Linked DNA regions of Homo sapiens: regions 1, 2, 4 and 5 are each linked to region 3. The links are contacts of gene promoters, found by promoter capture Hi-C in blood cells and fetal thymus (Javierre and others, 2016). All regions are on one chromosome and are shown on one strand. The core of a region is centred on a gene start or on the middle of the fragment in contact, and the rest is flanking DNA. Distances in the headings are between cores, read along the strand shown.

Region 1 (3,258 bases), core at 544-3,043, 640 kb after region 3:
TGCTTACTTAAATTTATATAATAACTTTATTATATATTTATAAAATAAAATTGCAGTTACATTCCTATATTCTTAACAATAACCCTGTTCATATTTGAGTTAATTTTAAATTGGCTGCATTTTACCTAGAAGCTGAAAGTCCAGCATTTTCCACCTTTAGCTTAGGTAAGGTGAGGAATTGGAGCTCATGTTGACTTTGACATGCTATCTCTGCAGGCTACTTCACCCAACAGGTTAAAAAATTACACTGAAAGCAGTGCCCCCACGAAACTTCACAGTTGAGATTGGAGTTGGGGGGTGCAGTAGAATAGGTCTATCAGGAAGAAATGCTTCCCTCACTCTTTCCACTGTGAAATTGATCACACAGATAGTTCCTCAGGGCAGTCAGCAGGTTTGGGAAAGGTGAGAGGCAGATCAAACAAGCATAATGAGTCATTTAGACCCAACCTTGGCACAATCTTTTGTCATCCTCATCATTCCCTATGGAAGCCTAAGGCAGGTGGCACAGACTCTGTTGTTTCTCTCCTCTGGGCTTCTTTGTGAGCCATGTCCTACACTCCAGACCTGGAGGTCCACTCGTGTCAGTTACCCTGTGTAGATGAAATAATGCACATTGTACTGGGGATGGGGACATTATGTCTGAAGATCAATTCTGGAATTCCACCCAGGATCATTTTTTCTTGTTGGTGGTTTTCCTGCTTTGTCCCATGAAGTATTCTCTACAATTCAAAGCAAAGAAAATGAAAAGTCTGAGAGTCTGAGTTCCTAGAGATAGGAATACCTCTATAAAACAACCTCTAAATAATTCCAAAATGCTCAACATGTCCCTATTTATGTCAAATAGTCTACGGACAGAAAGCCTATTGCTTATCCTTGGATGGCTCCTAGTGAAGAATGTCAGATAATGCAAGAATTTTTCTTTTTTGCTAATTTTATTATTTCTAAAATTTTAGTTTTTACATAAGAAATATATGGCATCTGGTGAAATTATCTCACCCTATCTGAATTTAACTCCTTCCATCAGAGGACAAATGTAGATTTCCACTGACTTCACCAAAAATGCTGCATTTGTGTCTTAGATCAAACAGTGACCCATGGGATTATATAAATCATAAAATAATTGTTCTAGAAGAAGCTTGTACATAAAACATTCAAATGCTCCAGTGATGAAAGTCCTCCCTAACACAATGTGTGCCCAAGTGGAATAGCAGCACTCCCTCCTCTCCCCTCAAATCTTATGTGTGTTGAATATAATAAGACATTTGAAGGTATAAATCTTATAGCGAGCCAGGAGAGAGATACTTTTGATCATAGGATTGTGAGGCCAGTAAAAAGGCTCAGAGGATGAGCAATGGCATGTGTAGTGCAGGGTTAAACTAAAGCAAATTATATATATACATATATATGTGTATATATGTATACATATACGTGTATATACACATAAATACAAGCATATATATGTGTATATATACTTGTTTGTGTTATGTATATTTGAGTGTGTGATATATATCACATGTGACATATATATTTGATATATATATCTCTCTCACACACACACGTATGTATAGGCTTGAATAGAGATCATACATGGAGGCAGATGTTAAGTCAGGAGGCCAGCAGGTGGGAGAGGGGAAATATTTGAGTAAGCAGTGCTGAGTGTGGCAAAGGAAAGGATTTATGTGAAATGCTCTGAGGTGTAAGTCCTGCCTAATGGATTTCTGTCTATGCTGTGGTACCTAAGGAGAGAGAGACTTGTAACAGGGTTCTAAGCACAGGATCTACATGATCCAGTTAATGGGGGCAGAGGTATTGACAGGGCACTTCATCCTGGAGCTGAAAATGTGGCTTGGAGGCAATATAAAGGACTGAATTCTTTTCCAGAGGTAGTTTCTGGCTTGGAAGATAAAGCAGGTTCAGATTATAAAAGCCAATATATGTATCAAGTTAGATTTAAGGAAAACTGAGTATTCTATCTATTAGTGTATATGCCTCTCCCCACTGCAGTACATTATAACACATATCCAGAATGTTTAGTCCTGGAATATGCTGATGAGCATCTCTGGGGAGGCAAGGATGCAGAGGAGTAGGGAAGAACTGAACTTGGATTCCAAATTTGCACACTAGAGAGAAGAACCAATGTTTATACTCTTAAGCAGAGTATACTAGTTTCTTAGAGATGCCATAACAAAATGCAACAAAATGCATGGCTTTAAACAACAGAAATTAATTATCCTATTGTTCTGGAGGCTCTGGGGGAGTATCTGTTCCATACTGTCTCTCAGCTTCTGGTGGTGGCTGCAATCCTTGGTGTTCCTTGCCTTGCAGATGCATCATCGAAGGAAGAAAGAGGAAAACAATATGAGAAAAAGATAAAAAATGGGTGGAAAGTAAAGAAAGATAAGAACTTCTAAAATACTTTCTTTAAGTCACAGATGTTGGATCAGTTCAATCAAAGCTTAACATTCTAGTTAGATTTATAGAACTGCAAAAACACAGAAATAGATACACATTTAAAACATGGAAGAAAAAAACTTTTATCAATAAAAATTATTGTAAACATTTGAAAGCATGCTATGCCATAATATGAAGTTCAAAGTAGGTTTGAAATTTCTGTTTTGTGAAAGCCTAACAGTTTTACGTATCACAAGGATGATGAAGAATGGGCTCTTGTGATGGCAGTTCACCATTTCCAATTCATTTGTTGGGTTTAGAAAAATATTTCAGAGTCTCCACTTCTCTTAAGAGGAATCTTGTCTTCCATTTTTCTGTACACATTAAGCCTTAAATTGCTCCCACAGGCCCACGTGTGCAATATGTACTACACTGTTGCCCACAAGGGTTTAATATAAATGTGACATCCTGCTGTGTAAGAAGAATTGTGCTGTGATTTTATAACTAACATTTTCAGAGGGAGCCATTATTTAAAAGACATAAGAATTCAAGAACCATTTGGCTGATGAGATTTGAGCCAATTGGGATCAACTACCCTGTCATCATTCATGCAACAGAACATAAATTTGAATCAGATGAAAGGAAATTTGCAGGTCAAATGCAATGGGTTCTTCCAAACTGTCACAGTGAAAGACAATGCCTTGCTTGAGTAGAGAGGAAGAAATAAGTATCCTTTTTAAAACATTAAATATCAGAGTGAAACCAAAGCAATTGAACGATAGCAATTGCCTCAGTCTAATGACCTCATTTCTGTCATGCAACCTGGAGAAACAAGATGTCAAAAATAATCCGTTAAAAAGTAGAGCA
Region 2 (3,019 bases), core at 220-2,719, 760 kb after region 3:
AACTGTCTATGATTTCTCTGCTCCAAGTACCCACACTGTCCTATTCAGTGCTTGCTTAGCACAAGTTAGGGGAGAAGCTTTATCTGCCTATGCACTATGAATGCTGTTTGGTAGCCAGTACCCCAGATGGTTTTTATAGAGAATCCTTCTGCTCCTTAAATTTTTAATTCTAAATATGTAGAATTCCCTGAACTCCTCCTACCCTTTTTCATTTACTTTTTTTTTCATATGTAAGCTCTGGAGTGTGGCTTATTTTATTAATCTGATCCTACCAGCTTTTAACCTTTCAGGGAACTCCTCCAAATTTCTGGGCCATTATTGAACCTTTTTCTTGTTTCCTGGAGGAGTTGTGGATTTGAGAGGCATCTTCTCTGTTCTTTCTATAGATTTTAAGTAGGAGAAGTAGATAGGGACATGCTTGATTTAATTTCCCTCCTTACATTACATAGCATGTTCATATATGCTGTATAAATGTCCTTTATACATACAATCTCATTTAATTGTAATAATAATCTTGTCAAAAATGTATTGTTCCCATTTTATAAATAACAAAATTAAGGGTTTTAGACATTCATTGGGTTACCACTGGTTCCACAGCCTTTTGGTGGCATAATGGAGACTGGAGTTGAGATCACCTGAATCGAGTTCAGTGTTCTCACTGTACCACACTGCCTTAAAAATATTCTCAAATCATTTACATTTTCCACAAAAGCTCATATAAACTTGTAGATTCCTTTTATTCCCCTTCAAATCTCTGAACAGGTTGATACTGGCTGGTAGTTACTCTAATGTGTTTCATACAAATAGGCTGGTTTGACACCCATATCTTGAGTAAACAGTCAAATTCAATAAACATGGAGAGTCAGTACTCATTTGGATAGAAAATTCCTTTAATTTCTTTGGATTGTTAGAACAGGCACCAGCAGAATTCTGCCTTCAGGAGAAAGCATTTCTTAGAAGTATGGTGGTATACCCATCTATATGAATGTACAGTGACCATCATCTATTTGGCTGGTTAGAAGATGTAAAACAAGCAGGTAAATACAAATGTGGGAAGGTAGGTCTTTGTTAGGCAACAATATACTTCAAGTGATGAGGCATGAGGATTATCTTAAACAATGAAGATATACAGTTTCTTCGTTCTCAGAAGTGCTAGGAGAGAGAAATGAAAGGCTAGCCAAACTGGAAGAGGAGGACCAAAAGTCTTGCACACTATAGTCAGAGCAATTCTTACTTTTGAAATTCAAACTTTCCTTTGAGTTTAGTGTTTAAAGGGCAATTGGCTGAAATAAAAATAACTTTGGTTAAAAACAAGTGGTGATTCAGTTTAAATGCTGAACAACATTCAGCTTCAACTGTTTTGAGAACAAGCTTATGCTGTGGGACAATTTGGATTAACAGTATTAGAAAGAAACCTGATCAAGGTCTTCAGTCTTTATCAAAAGAGATGAGTTTAGTGAAGTTAACTCCTTTCATCTCACCCCATCTAGGCAAAAACAAAGGGGACGGAGTGAGAAATGGAAGTTTAGCTAGATCTTTATGGCAAACAAAAAGTTTAAATAGGTTTTGAAGCTTTTTATAAAAAGATCTCAATCTATCTGTCAAGGTCATGAAAAGTATTTGTCTTTTTATTCAGACCTCATGATTAAAAGTACACTGGTATTCAGAATTTGCCAGTGGACAGTTGGGGTGGATAGAAGCTTCTTTAAATATTCCATATCACACAGTCATATAGTTAGCTATTTAGGTATTATGCCTTCTAAGCTATGACCAGTCAACCCCAAAACACCTCTGTCCAAAGACTTGATTCATCCAGATACAGAGATAAATAGAGTTAAACAGTTGAAAAATTTATGAAAGAAATGGGCTTGGTCTTTGGTGTGCTCAGCCAATTTTCTGTATTAGATTAATCATGTGCTTGTTATTCTCTATTTGTCCTGCTAGATCTGCACTCCACCCTTTTCCACTTTTCTCTGTGCCCAGGAGATTGATTTATATGGAATTCATCAACTGGAATCTTTCCTTGTTCTCTTTCATTTGCATTTGGCCAATGAGAGCCACTGGCAGGAGGCTTGAGGGTGGTGGGGGGAGGGACTGGAGTATTTTCCTTGCAGCCAACTTCCTTCCTGGCCAGGACTTGGCACTGGTTGCCTTCCTCTAATGAAGGCACTGTTTCCATCAGTGGTCCTCTCCTACAGCCTCTGCTAGAGCCACAGCCTTATCTGAGATTCCCTTTTCTCTTCAGGGATACAGACCCTTGCTGTTGCTAGCCTCTTGGTGTTTCTACTTCTGTTATTATTATTTTTTTTCAGTCCTGGCCTCATCACCATAGATAGTCTCTTCATTAACTCTGCTTAACAATGTTGTTTGGGTGTGCAATCTATGTCCTGTCAGTCTTAGATTGTTACACCACCTAAATCACATCTTCTGCAGATGTAAAAAGGGAGCTGGCACTAGTTAAATTGTTAATGAAATTATCCACCATCTATGTTTAATTATCCAATTTCAGTATATACATATAGTGGTTTCAGAATAGTCAACCCATGCTCCCATGGGAAACAACTTTACTAACTAAAGTACAGTGCTTACATGCAGTTCCTTTGCCTTTAGACTTATAATCCACTTATTTCCAAAGCTAATAGCTTTTGCTAAGTAACTAAGTTTGTTAATAGTAACTAATATTTTAAAATTTTATTTTATTCAAGAAATCTTGTTTGGTGTTAACTATGAGTCACACATGGAATTTACGAGTCTAGTGGGAGGGATAAACTAGTACACCTAGCCTTTACTTTACAAATTAATTTATTTCCCAAAACACTGCTGTTAAGTTCAAAACTGTTAAATAAGAAATTATTTCCATTTATTTTAATGGAAAAAATTTGATTTGTTTTTTCTTAATCCCAAATGTACAATTTTCAAAGATAGAAAGAAAAAAATATTAATGGAACAATTTAAACAAGTTCATGAATTAATTTATTTCCAAAACATTGCTATTAAGTTCAAAGCTGTTAAATAAGAA
Region 3 (3,295 bases), core at 167-2,666:
TCGGAATTACTGGGTAGTATCATCTAGGAAAGGATTGCAGCGGGAGTGGATACCCTCCCCAGGGCTCCTCTAACTTTTTGAAAAGAGCGCGAGTGGACTGGGAACCATTCAAGGGATATTTGTCTTCTAGGCAATCCTGCTGGTAGGGTTCATTAGTTTCTAGAAGGCTAGTGTGATTTAGATTCTTGAGATGATTCAAGGAATGTGGCCTTTATCAAGCCCGACTTTCCGGGTGATGCTCCACATATTTTACCCAGGGTGGGAGAAATAGCACGCTGTCACCGAGACCCTCGCTCATCGGGGCTCCCACTGGTTCACTGCAGCTAGCTAGCAGTTAAAGTTTACTGCTTAGGTTGGGTGGGGGGGCATATTTTCTTAGAAGCTCCTGCCTTCCTCAGTTCATTACTGTAAACCCCGTACCTTAAAAGACTCGGCTTCTTCTCACTAACAAAGAAAAAAAGCAAAACAAAACCAAAACACACACACGCACACACACACACTCTCTCTCTGGGAATTTCCACAACTTCCCTTGAATGTGTAAGGATTTCTAAATGTTAGACTTGTTTGGATAGTATGAAAGGACAAAGTATCAGCACTCAGAAATGTCAACCTTTGAACCTCGAACACTTTCTGATTTATAAAAAGAATCCTTCCAAAAAGATGCAGGAGCCCTAATGTAATCGTTAGATCTGAAGGGGGAAATCTGTAAAAAAAAAAAAAAAAAAAAAAAAAAAGTCAATCACAAATGAGCCATTTAATACTTGCAAGTTGTTTAACATTGAAATGATAATATTTGCTTCCACAATAAAAAGTCCAAGGTACCTAGCCAAGTTTCAAACTATCCAGGCTTTAAAAAGTCAACCCTTCTCCCAATAGAAGGTTAAAACAAAAATCAGATTGAAATTATCAAATCACTTATGTTGTAAATAAATTCACTTTACTTTCAGAACATTATAAATTAAGGACTGGCATCAATAGACTGCTTTGATTTATGTTGCTTTTTCTACTAATTAAACAAAATTAACCCCCCACTCCTTCCCTCCTTTCTTTTTCCCCACACACTTTTCTGGTGTTAATGGCAAAACATCTATCAAATATTTTTAGAATTTCCTCTCCTCCACAAAAAGAGAAAATATAGACACAGGAAAAATAAATAGTCTTTATATACTCGGAATACCAAAGTTCCCTCCTAATTTATTACTTCACCTTTTCCTTGATTTACAATCTTCTCTCTGCTCTTCTGGCTGAAAGAGGGAAATCTTCTCAGCAGTCTTTTCCAGAAATATTTTTTGTTGTTCTTCAGAAAACATAAAATTAAATCTTAAAATGAATTAAAAGCTTCTTGAAAGGAGACTTCTGTTCCCACTAAAGGCAATTATTAGAAAGCAGGTACCTCTTCCAAGCTGCCCTGTTTATTACTTTCCGTAGAAATTCTCCTCAATATATACCCAGGACCCTGACTTTTTGCCTGTTTTGGAAAGGATATTTTCTGACATCATAATCTAGTTCCTAACATAACTGAGTAATCTCCATCATAATAATGCAGAGGATGCATGACTGCAAATGAGACACAGCAAGAGCACCCCCTACCACCTCCCTCCCCCCCCCGTCCCCCCAGCCCACACACACACCTTTTTTCTAAGGTTTAGAAATAGAACAAGTGCCAATAGAAGCTAAATGTTTGCTTAGGCCTTGCTGTCATGTAAATGCACCTTAGCAAATGGGAAGGCCTGCCTCTAATCTGAAGTATTTCCATGTTTAGCATTATAAGATCTACACCTACACAAATGCCTAGCCCATGAGCACCAGGCTTCCATCTTCCCATCCCCAGTGGCAGTTTATTACAGTATATCAAATTTTAAAAGAGGTTGAAAAAATTTTAAATGCATTACTCTTAAATTCAGTTGAATACCCAGTTAATGTATATCTCCTGTCATAGCTTAGAAAAAAGTAAATAGCATTTATGCTTAGCCTCTTCATCCTTCTTTCTTCTTTCCTCCTTAACCCAAACAGCAAACAGATATACATTATAAACCAAATATGAATCTATAGCACTTTAAACAGTGCACCTGGGCTTGGGAATTCTCTTATTACCAATAAGCATCCAGATTTCACATTTACCAATCTGTAGCTGCAAGCTATGTCTCTAAAATCCCCTGGAACCAAACAACTAAACTCATCCCATCTCTTCTCCAAACTTTTTTCAATGTTTACAAAGAGACGTTGCATAATCAGCTCAAGTAATGCTCTCATTGGATTCCATTAGAATGTGGCTCTCATCGCTCGCCTGGACTGAGACTTGAGAGGAGGCTGTTGCCAGCTGACCTCAAGGTAGCAAAAAAGAAAAAAAGATGTAATGCCTTCAAACCCCAAGTAACAATAGGAAAGGGTGTGTTTCTTTATTAAATCTTTTTGTAGTTAGGTGAGGATAAGACTTCTCCAGGAACAGGGCGGGCTGCTAACCTCTGGAGGAACTGCCTCAGGGAGGAGTGTATAGATATGCATCAAGCTGATGGGATCCTCCCATGGGAAAAGTGGGCCTCACACCCTTCCTCACCCTTCCCTACTTCCTGGGCAATGTTCTGCTTCCCCCAAACTGAAGCAGGAGGCCCAGAGAGGAGGCGGTTTCCTGGGAGGAACCCAAACCAATGTGAGATGAGAAGGTCTTTAGGAAATGGGGGTCTCTGAGAACCGGTTCTTAAAGGTCAAGCACTTGAGCACCTCGCAAACTCCTGACAATTGAAACATATCTGAAGAGTCTTCTTCAGATATGTCTCTGTGTGTGTGTGTGTGTGTGTGTGTGTGTGTGTGTGAGAGAGAGAGAGAGAGAGAGAGAGAGAGAATATGAATGTGCAGTGTCCCAGTCCTGATCTCCTGGACTGGTGCCAGCCAGCCAGATGCCTGCCCTTGGCTGGCCAAGTTTTTGGCTCCTGAAAGTAGGCAGCTCTGGACTTGTACGAGGCCACAGAGAGAGTTCCAAGCCCCACCTGGCTCAGGCGACAACCTCTCAACCTGAAGTCAATCTCCGGTGGCATCACAGGGCCCTCCTGGCAGCAGCCCAGTTCCCCACATGAACCGAATGGTCCTTTCTTAAATTTTGAGCCGGGGGCTGCCTAAAAGGGGCTGCCCCCGCAAGCATTTTACCTCCCTAACACCATTCTCTGCCCGTGCCACGCTGGCCTCGAAGTCCCTTCCCAGGGCAGCACCCGGACTGAGATGTCTAAACTCTCCGGCAGGAAGGATACCTATCCAGACACCCGCACTGGATGTCCTGTCTGTTTGGCTTTGAGCTGGT
Region 4 (3,336 bases), core at 263-2,762, 620 kb after region 3:
AAACTGGGAATAAACCACATTAAAATGAATAAGAAGAGCAAATTAACTTTACTCGTGTTAGCCCATCTCCCAAGGCTGCACAGCTTAGTGCTGAGACAGAGATTTCTTTGGTCCATGACTTCTCCCTGAGGAAAGAATCAGAATGAAACATAATCCATTGTTCCTAGCCTTTTGTACTGCTGCTTGAGGGACCAGTTTCTGTTTTACCTCACCTGGAATGCTGATGGGACTGGCAGACTTTGAATACCTGGGGACAGCTAAGAACAAAGGCAAGGGACAGGCAGCTTACCACAGCCTGCATATTTCAGCAAGATTTGGTGAAGGCACACAAATAAAATTTATCCTCAGGGAGGGAGGAAGAGGAATAGAGTATGCCTCCAATGACCTGGCTCATGGTACAACAGTCAGACAACAGAGGGTGCAAGACATTATTGGCTTTTGAAAAAAATGAAATACATAGTAACTCTCTCCCTCCCCCAGTTAGGTATCTACACATGCAAATCCAGAGAAGACATATCATAGAAAAGATCTGAAAGGCTCCCAGAATCTTTAGCCACGATAATTGATGAAATTCTTTCCCTGTAGAGGCCAGTCCATAAAAAAAGGGAGAGGTGGCAGTTTCTTCAAATGCGCAGATACTAACAGAAAGCCACAGGAACATGAAGAATTGGGGAAACATGACCCACTCAAAGAAACAAAATTCAAAGTAATTGTCTTAAAGAAGCTCAGTGACTTAGTTTATAATACAGACAGACAACTGCCTGAAATCAGGAAAATAATACATGAACAAAACTAGAATATCAACAATGAGAAACTATAACAAAGAACCAAACAAAAATTCTGAAGCAAAAGAATAGAATCACTGAACTGAAAAATTCACCAGAGGTCTTCAACAGCATATTTGACTAAACAGAAGAGAGAAACAGTGAAATCAAAGAATCAAAGACAAGTCATTTAAAATTATCCAGAAGACCAAAAAAAGAAAAGAAAAGAATAAGAACCAAACACATTATGGAAGTTCAAGAAAGGGAAGAGAAAAAGGAGCAGAATGCTTATTTAAAGAAATAATGGTGGAAATGGTCATCCGAGATTCATGAAGCTTAACAGACACAAATACGAGGAATCCAAAGAAGTCTATGCCAAGAAACATAATTAAATTATCAAAAATCATAGACCAAGACACATGATTAAATTGTCAAAAGTCAAAGACAATGAGAGAATTTTGAAAGCAGCAAGAAACAAGCAGCTCATTGTGTATAAAGTAGCCCTGTAAGACTATCAGTGGATTTCTCAGCAGAAACTTTGCAGTGGGAAGGAGATGGAATTATATTTTCAAAGTGTTGGGGGAATAAAAATGTTACCAACCAAGAATACTACACCCAGCACAGCTATCCTTCAGAAGGAGGGAGAAATAAAGACTTTCTTAGACAAATGCTGAGGGAGTTTATTACCACTAGATTTGCCTTACAAGAAATGTTAAAGGGAGTTCTTCAAATTAAAATGAAAGGACACTAAACAGCCACATCAGAGCATATGAAATTATAAAAGTTACTGGACAAGATACGTATATAAACAAATATAGAATAGTATTATATTGGTGATATGTAAACCACTTTTAATTCTAGTGTAAAAGACAAAAGTATTGAAATTACTGTAATTATTAATACACAATATAAAAATTGTTTAAAAATTTGTGTAAATTGTGACAACAATAACATAAATGTATGTGTGAAGTAAAAGTATAGTTCTGCCAAAACAAATTTGTGTTTAATAAAAATAATTTACATTGCTTCAACTTTTTAAAAATTAAAACAGTACAAAGCATTTCTCAGTTTCACTAGCCATATTTCAAGTACTCAATATCCCACATGTGGCTAACAGCTAACATATTGGACAGCACAGCTTTATACAAAAAGTGCTTATTCATAAGCTTTACCTCACATCAGGTCAGCAAAATTTGGAAACTATTTTCCCCAGTGAGCCAACAACAGTCATTGAATGGGAAGAAGGGAAACAGGTCCCACTTACACTCTCTTGGTCTTTCAAAGGCCCCACAAATGACATCAATTGGCAAATTATTTCCTGTAATTTCAAACTTTTCTTCTTAAGCTTAAATTTTTTCAGAGAAGAAAAAAACCTCAAATACAACACAGATGGCATTTACTAGTAAAATATAAATTTTCTTTACCCATAAACTTCCCATTTTGAGACTTTGCTAAGAAAATGAAAACTATAGTTCATGTTAAATATTTGTGTAATAGTTAAAAAATAAGAAATAAAACTTTAAATTGAAATCCAGCAAATAGAAAAAATAGATCCAAGAAAACACCCTATTCCATTGGAAGACAGAAAGAGGAAGATACAAGTAGAAGAAACAAGGAAAAAGTATGGTAAAAAAAACAACAAAAAAAGATGAAAGAAATAGGTTAAAATTTATTATGAATCATAATAAATGCAAAAGGGATAAACTTTTCTTTTAAAGTGGGAAACCCCAGATTTTAAACAAATCTAGCTCTATGCTCTTTATGAGACCCACTTAAGATGAAATGATGCTAAAAGGATGGATAAGGATATAGCAGACATACTCACTGTCTACCAAAAAACTAATGTTAGCAATATTATATCCATTGAATTTAAAATTTGGCTGTTATACAGGATTTAAGCATAATGAATTATTACTACGTGTAGCAATAAGAATAGATCTCAAAAATATAATAGTTCATGAATTAAGCAAGTTGCATAACAAATGAACAACATATGATTTACATATAATTTAAAAATATGCACAAAGCAATAACATGGTTATTCTGTGGATATGTACACAAATATTTACAAGTAATTTTTTAAAGATGTGAAGGCTATACACTAATTTATAGTAGTGATTACATTGCAGAAATGGGGAATCTTGAAAAGGAGACACAGGCTAAAGAAAATTTCTATTTCATCAGTAACTTTTTTATTTTTTTATTTTATTTTAAGAAAATGATGTATTCATATACTTCTGTGATTTCCTTTAACATATATTCATGGGGAAAAAAACCTGAGAGCAAATAAAGCAAAATATTAAGAGTATTTAATTGTCAATAGTGGGAGTAAGAATGTCTGTCATTTAATTCCTTGTACTTCTCTGTGTTTTTTAAATTTTCAGAAGGAAAAAAGAGGAGAGGGAGGAAAAGATCAAGGGATGGGGAGAAAATGACATAAGTAAATGATCTGTCCAGCTGTTATATTTTATAATTAAAAAATAGACAAAGCACAGAAACTAAACCTAGAAAGTCAAGAAAACCTTGGAAGTGTCACAATTGGTTACAGAAGTGAAATTGTCCAACCTTTTCT
Region 5 (3,262 bases), core at 416-2,915, 720 kb after region 3:
TATATAATATATATATATAATATATATATAATATATAATATATATATAATATATATATAATATATATATTATATATATATATACTTAATCAGGGACGTTATACTTCATAAATTGATTTGCTGCCTTTGAAATTGTTTGGCTGTCAATATTTGCAGCTGATACAGTTAAATGACTGCATGATCTGCAAAAGAGGTCAATGAATGCAAGGGAGGTCAATGCCATAAAAAAGCTGAGGAGATGATTACTTAAGAAATGACAGCAGCAACAGTCTGAGCAGCAACACAGAGACCACCCAGAGAGGCTGCCTGTCAGCTGTGGCTGCCCCCACCCACACCCAGTTTGAGAAAAGAAATGATGACAGCCTAGTGAAGAGGCACAACTCTTACCAATAAAAAAGACTGTCAGCAGCTTTGCAGATGGGCTCAGAAAAGCCTCTTAGCCTATAACACACTTATCTCTCCTCAAATATCCCTAGCTTTCTACATATTTATTAGGGCCATCAGTAAATGAAGAGCAGGGGAGTATGAAAAAAATATGACTCATGGGGATGTCTTGTATCCATACAGCTCTTCAATGAACATTTTCTTTGACCCTCTTAACAAAATGTTGGAGAGGCAAGGCAGTGGAATTATAATTATTCTATTTTGCAGATCAGAAATAAGGAGAGTTCTGTGGTCTTGCTCAACTGGTTAATACCACTATGTTATTACTATTAGCTAATGTTTATTGAGCAATATGTATTAGACACTGTGTGAGCTAAGTACTTTAAATGGATCATTTCATTTGCCCTCAAAGAACCATTTGGGGTAGATAATATTATTTTTCTTTCTTCTTTTATTTTTATTTTTTTTTTTGAGATGGAGTCTCACTCTGTCGCCCAGGCTGGAGTGCAGTGGCTCCATCTCGTCTCACTGCAAGCTCCGCCTCCTGGGTTCACACCATTTTCCTGCCTCAGCCTCCAGAGTAGTTGGGACTACAGGCGCCCACCACCACGCGCGGCTAATTTTTTTTTGTATTTTTCGTAGAGATGGGGTTTCACTGTGTTAGCCAGGATGGTCTCGATCTCCTGACCTCGTGATCCGCCCACCTCGGCCTCTCAAAGTGCTGGGATTGCAGGCGTGAGCCACTGCACCTGGCCAATATTATTTTTCTTAATGTACGGATGAGAAGACTTTGGCTCAGGGGGTTATAACAAGATGTCAAAGAAGTAGAGCCAAAATCCAAGCCTGGAGTCTAGAATCCATACTCTCCACCTTGTTTTGACTCTGTAATATAAATCAATACTTTTGAATGCCTATTGCTTGAGTTATTTTGCATTTTGGGAATTTTGCCATCAATGTTTTAGACTCTTGTCTATAAGCTTAGGCTAATTATTTGAACATTTATCTAACAGATTTATTTAGTGCTTAATATGTGCCAGGCATGGGTATAGATTTTGAGAAAATACTCACTAAAACACCGGCCACCTTTTCTATGTAAAGATAGTTAAATTCTTTGCTTTCCTTTAATCTTTCTTAATTAGTTATACAAGGATGCTATTTTTCTTCCTACATGGGAACTCCCATATACACGTTGTGGAGCAATAGTAGGAATCATCAGGCTTAAGAAACATTGGCAAGAGGTTTGGAGTTCAGAGACTTTTAATAAATATGCATAAAACAAAGAGAAAGGACTTGCCAGACAGTAAAATGAACAGTGTTAGGGAGAACACTTATCCTCCACTGCCCGTACTACTCTGTGGAAGAAATCTCCATGAGCGTAACTCTTTTGACCTCTCTTTGGCCCGTTTTTCATTCTTCTCCAGATCTGAGTTTTGTAGAAGGAATTGGAAGTATAGGGCTTAATCTCTTCTGTATTTAGCTGGGAGTCTTGTGGCCTGTAGAGAGGTTGCATATGTGTCACACCCTCTCTGCAGGTGTGGCATGTTCTGGGGAGGACTGCTGATGTCCTGTGCTATCTGTGAATAGTAAGTAAGCTTGCATATTCAGCGATGAAGTGTCATAAACCCATTAGGCTTAAAGCTGATGCTCATTCTCTAATGAGTGGTGTCTCTAGTGAGGGAGCAAACTGACAGACAATTCTGATATATGATTTATAATTCCAGAGAAGATATAAATCCATTGATTCTTCTCTGCCAATTGTTTGGATTTAATAAGAAGTAACTCTTTATCTTCCAAATTCAGACAAAATTCAGAAAAACAAGCAGGAGTGAGAGATTAAAGTAACTTTTTAATCATAAGCACTAGAGATACCACTCTATTAATTTCCAGCATGCAATATGTACATTCCAAGTCCTTAAAAGCTGCCCAGTAAATGTTTGTTCACACAGAAAAGAATGGGATTCAGGTCTCATTTGTAATGTGAAGTGTTTGTTTCAATAATTTCTCAAACTCCAATTCGTATCATCCTGAGATTCTAATGAGAGATGAATGGGGTTAAAAAAATGCAAGGAGGACTTCTACTTCCAGTAAAGATAGAGTAACAGGGACTGAATTAAATGATCTACCTTAAACAAGTAGAAAACTGGTCAATATACATGAAAGAAAAAGTTTTCAGACCTTGGACAATAGGTAATTACACAAGATGATCCCTACAATTGCACCAGCTTATAGGCTACAAGTTTGAGATAGTCTATTAGTTAGGGTTCTCCAGAGAACCAGAACCAAGAGAATGTATATACATATATAGAAAGAGATTTATTATAAGGAATTGGCTTGTGCAATTCTGGAGGCTGGGAAGTTCAAAATCTGTAGCCTGCAGACTGGAGACCCGGCACAGCTGATAGTGAAGATGCAGTCCAAAAGCAATTCGCTGGAGAATTTCCTCTTGCTTAGGCAGGCCAGGCTTTTTGTTCTATTCAGGCCTTCAACTGATTGGCCTTCTATTCCGGCCTTCAACACTTTGTGGAGGACAATCAGCTTTACTCAAAGTTCAACCATTTAGACGATAATCTCATCCCAAAGTCTTCAAGAAAAAGACCCAAATGCAACTTTCAGCAAACAAATGCTGAGAGAATTCATTGCTATGGAGAATGTTAAAGGACGTTCTTTAGGAAGTAAGATTATTATATAGACATTTGGATCTAAACATGGAAAAGAATAGTGCCAGAAACAGTAAATATATGGGTAAAAACATTTTTTACCCTTTTTAATTTCTTTAAAGAATATTGACTATTTAAAGTAAAAGTAATAACAATTTATCATAGAATTAACAGCACATATGGAGGTAAAATGCATGACAACAATAGCATAAAGACCAGGAG

Evidence for each region. Contacts are between HindIII fragments. The CHiCAGO score rates a contact against its expected background, and 5 or more counts as called.
Region 1: a fragment that was not itself captured here is called in contact with the fragment with the promoter of PTHLH in region 3 in 1 of 17 cell types (M2 macrophages); the score reaches 6.6 in M2 macrophages.
Region 2: a contact is called between a fragment that was not itself captured here and the fragment with the promoter of PTHLH in region 3, in 2 of 17 cell types (M2 macrophages and M0 macrophages). The highest score is 5.7, in M2 macrophages.
Region 4: a contact is called between a fragment that was not itself captured here and the fragment with the promoter of PTHLH in region 3, in 1 of 17 cell types (M0 macrophages). The highest score is 5.6, in M0 macrophages.
Region 5: a fragment that was not itself captured here is called in contact with the fragment with the promoter of PTHLH in region 3 in 1 of 17 cell types (M0 macrophages); the score reaches 5.6 in M0 macrophages.

What each region holds. Positions count from the first base shown.
Region 1 is chr12:28,611,818-28,615,075 of GRCh38, forward strand. No RefSeq gene overlaps it. Among named protein-coding and RNA genes, the nearest start is that of CCDC91, 420 kb to the left of the region's middle. The HindIII fragment of the contact is 1,320 bases long and covers 1,134-2,453 here.
Region 2 is chr12:28,728,317-28,731,335 of GRCh38, forward strand. All of the region lies in intron 2 of LOC105369711 (a long non-coding RNA gene), which reads right to left. Among named protein-coding and RNA genes, the nearest start is that of FAR2, 420 kb to the right of the region's middle. The HindIII fragment of the contact is 201 bases long and covers 1,370-1,570 here.
Region 3 is chr12:27,971,317-27,974,611 of GRCh38, forward strand. PTHLH (parathyroid hormone like hormone) reads right to left here and starts at 1,417. Exons shown (of 6, transcript NM_198965.2): 1 at 1,207-1,417; 2 at 611-703. The HindIII fragment of the contact is 3,977 bases long and covers 1,337-3,295 here.
Region 4 is chr12:28,591,840-28,595,175 of GRCh38, forward strand. No RefSeq gene overlaps it. Among named protein-coding and RNA genes, the nearest start is that of CCDC91, 400 kb to the left of the region's middle. The HindIII fragment of the contact is 831 bases long and covers 1,098-1,928 here.
Region 5 is chr12:28,692,097-28,695,358 of GRCh38, forward strand. No RefSeq gene overlaps it. Among named protein-coding and RNA genes, the nearest start is that of FAR2, 460 kb to the right of the region's middle. The HindIII fragment of the contact is 615 bases long and covers 1,359-1,973 here.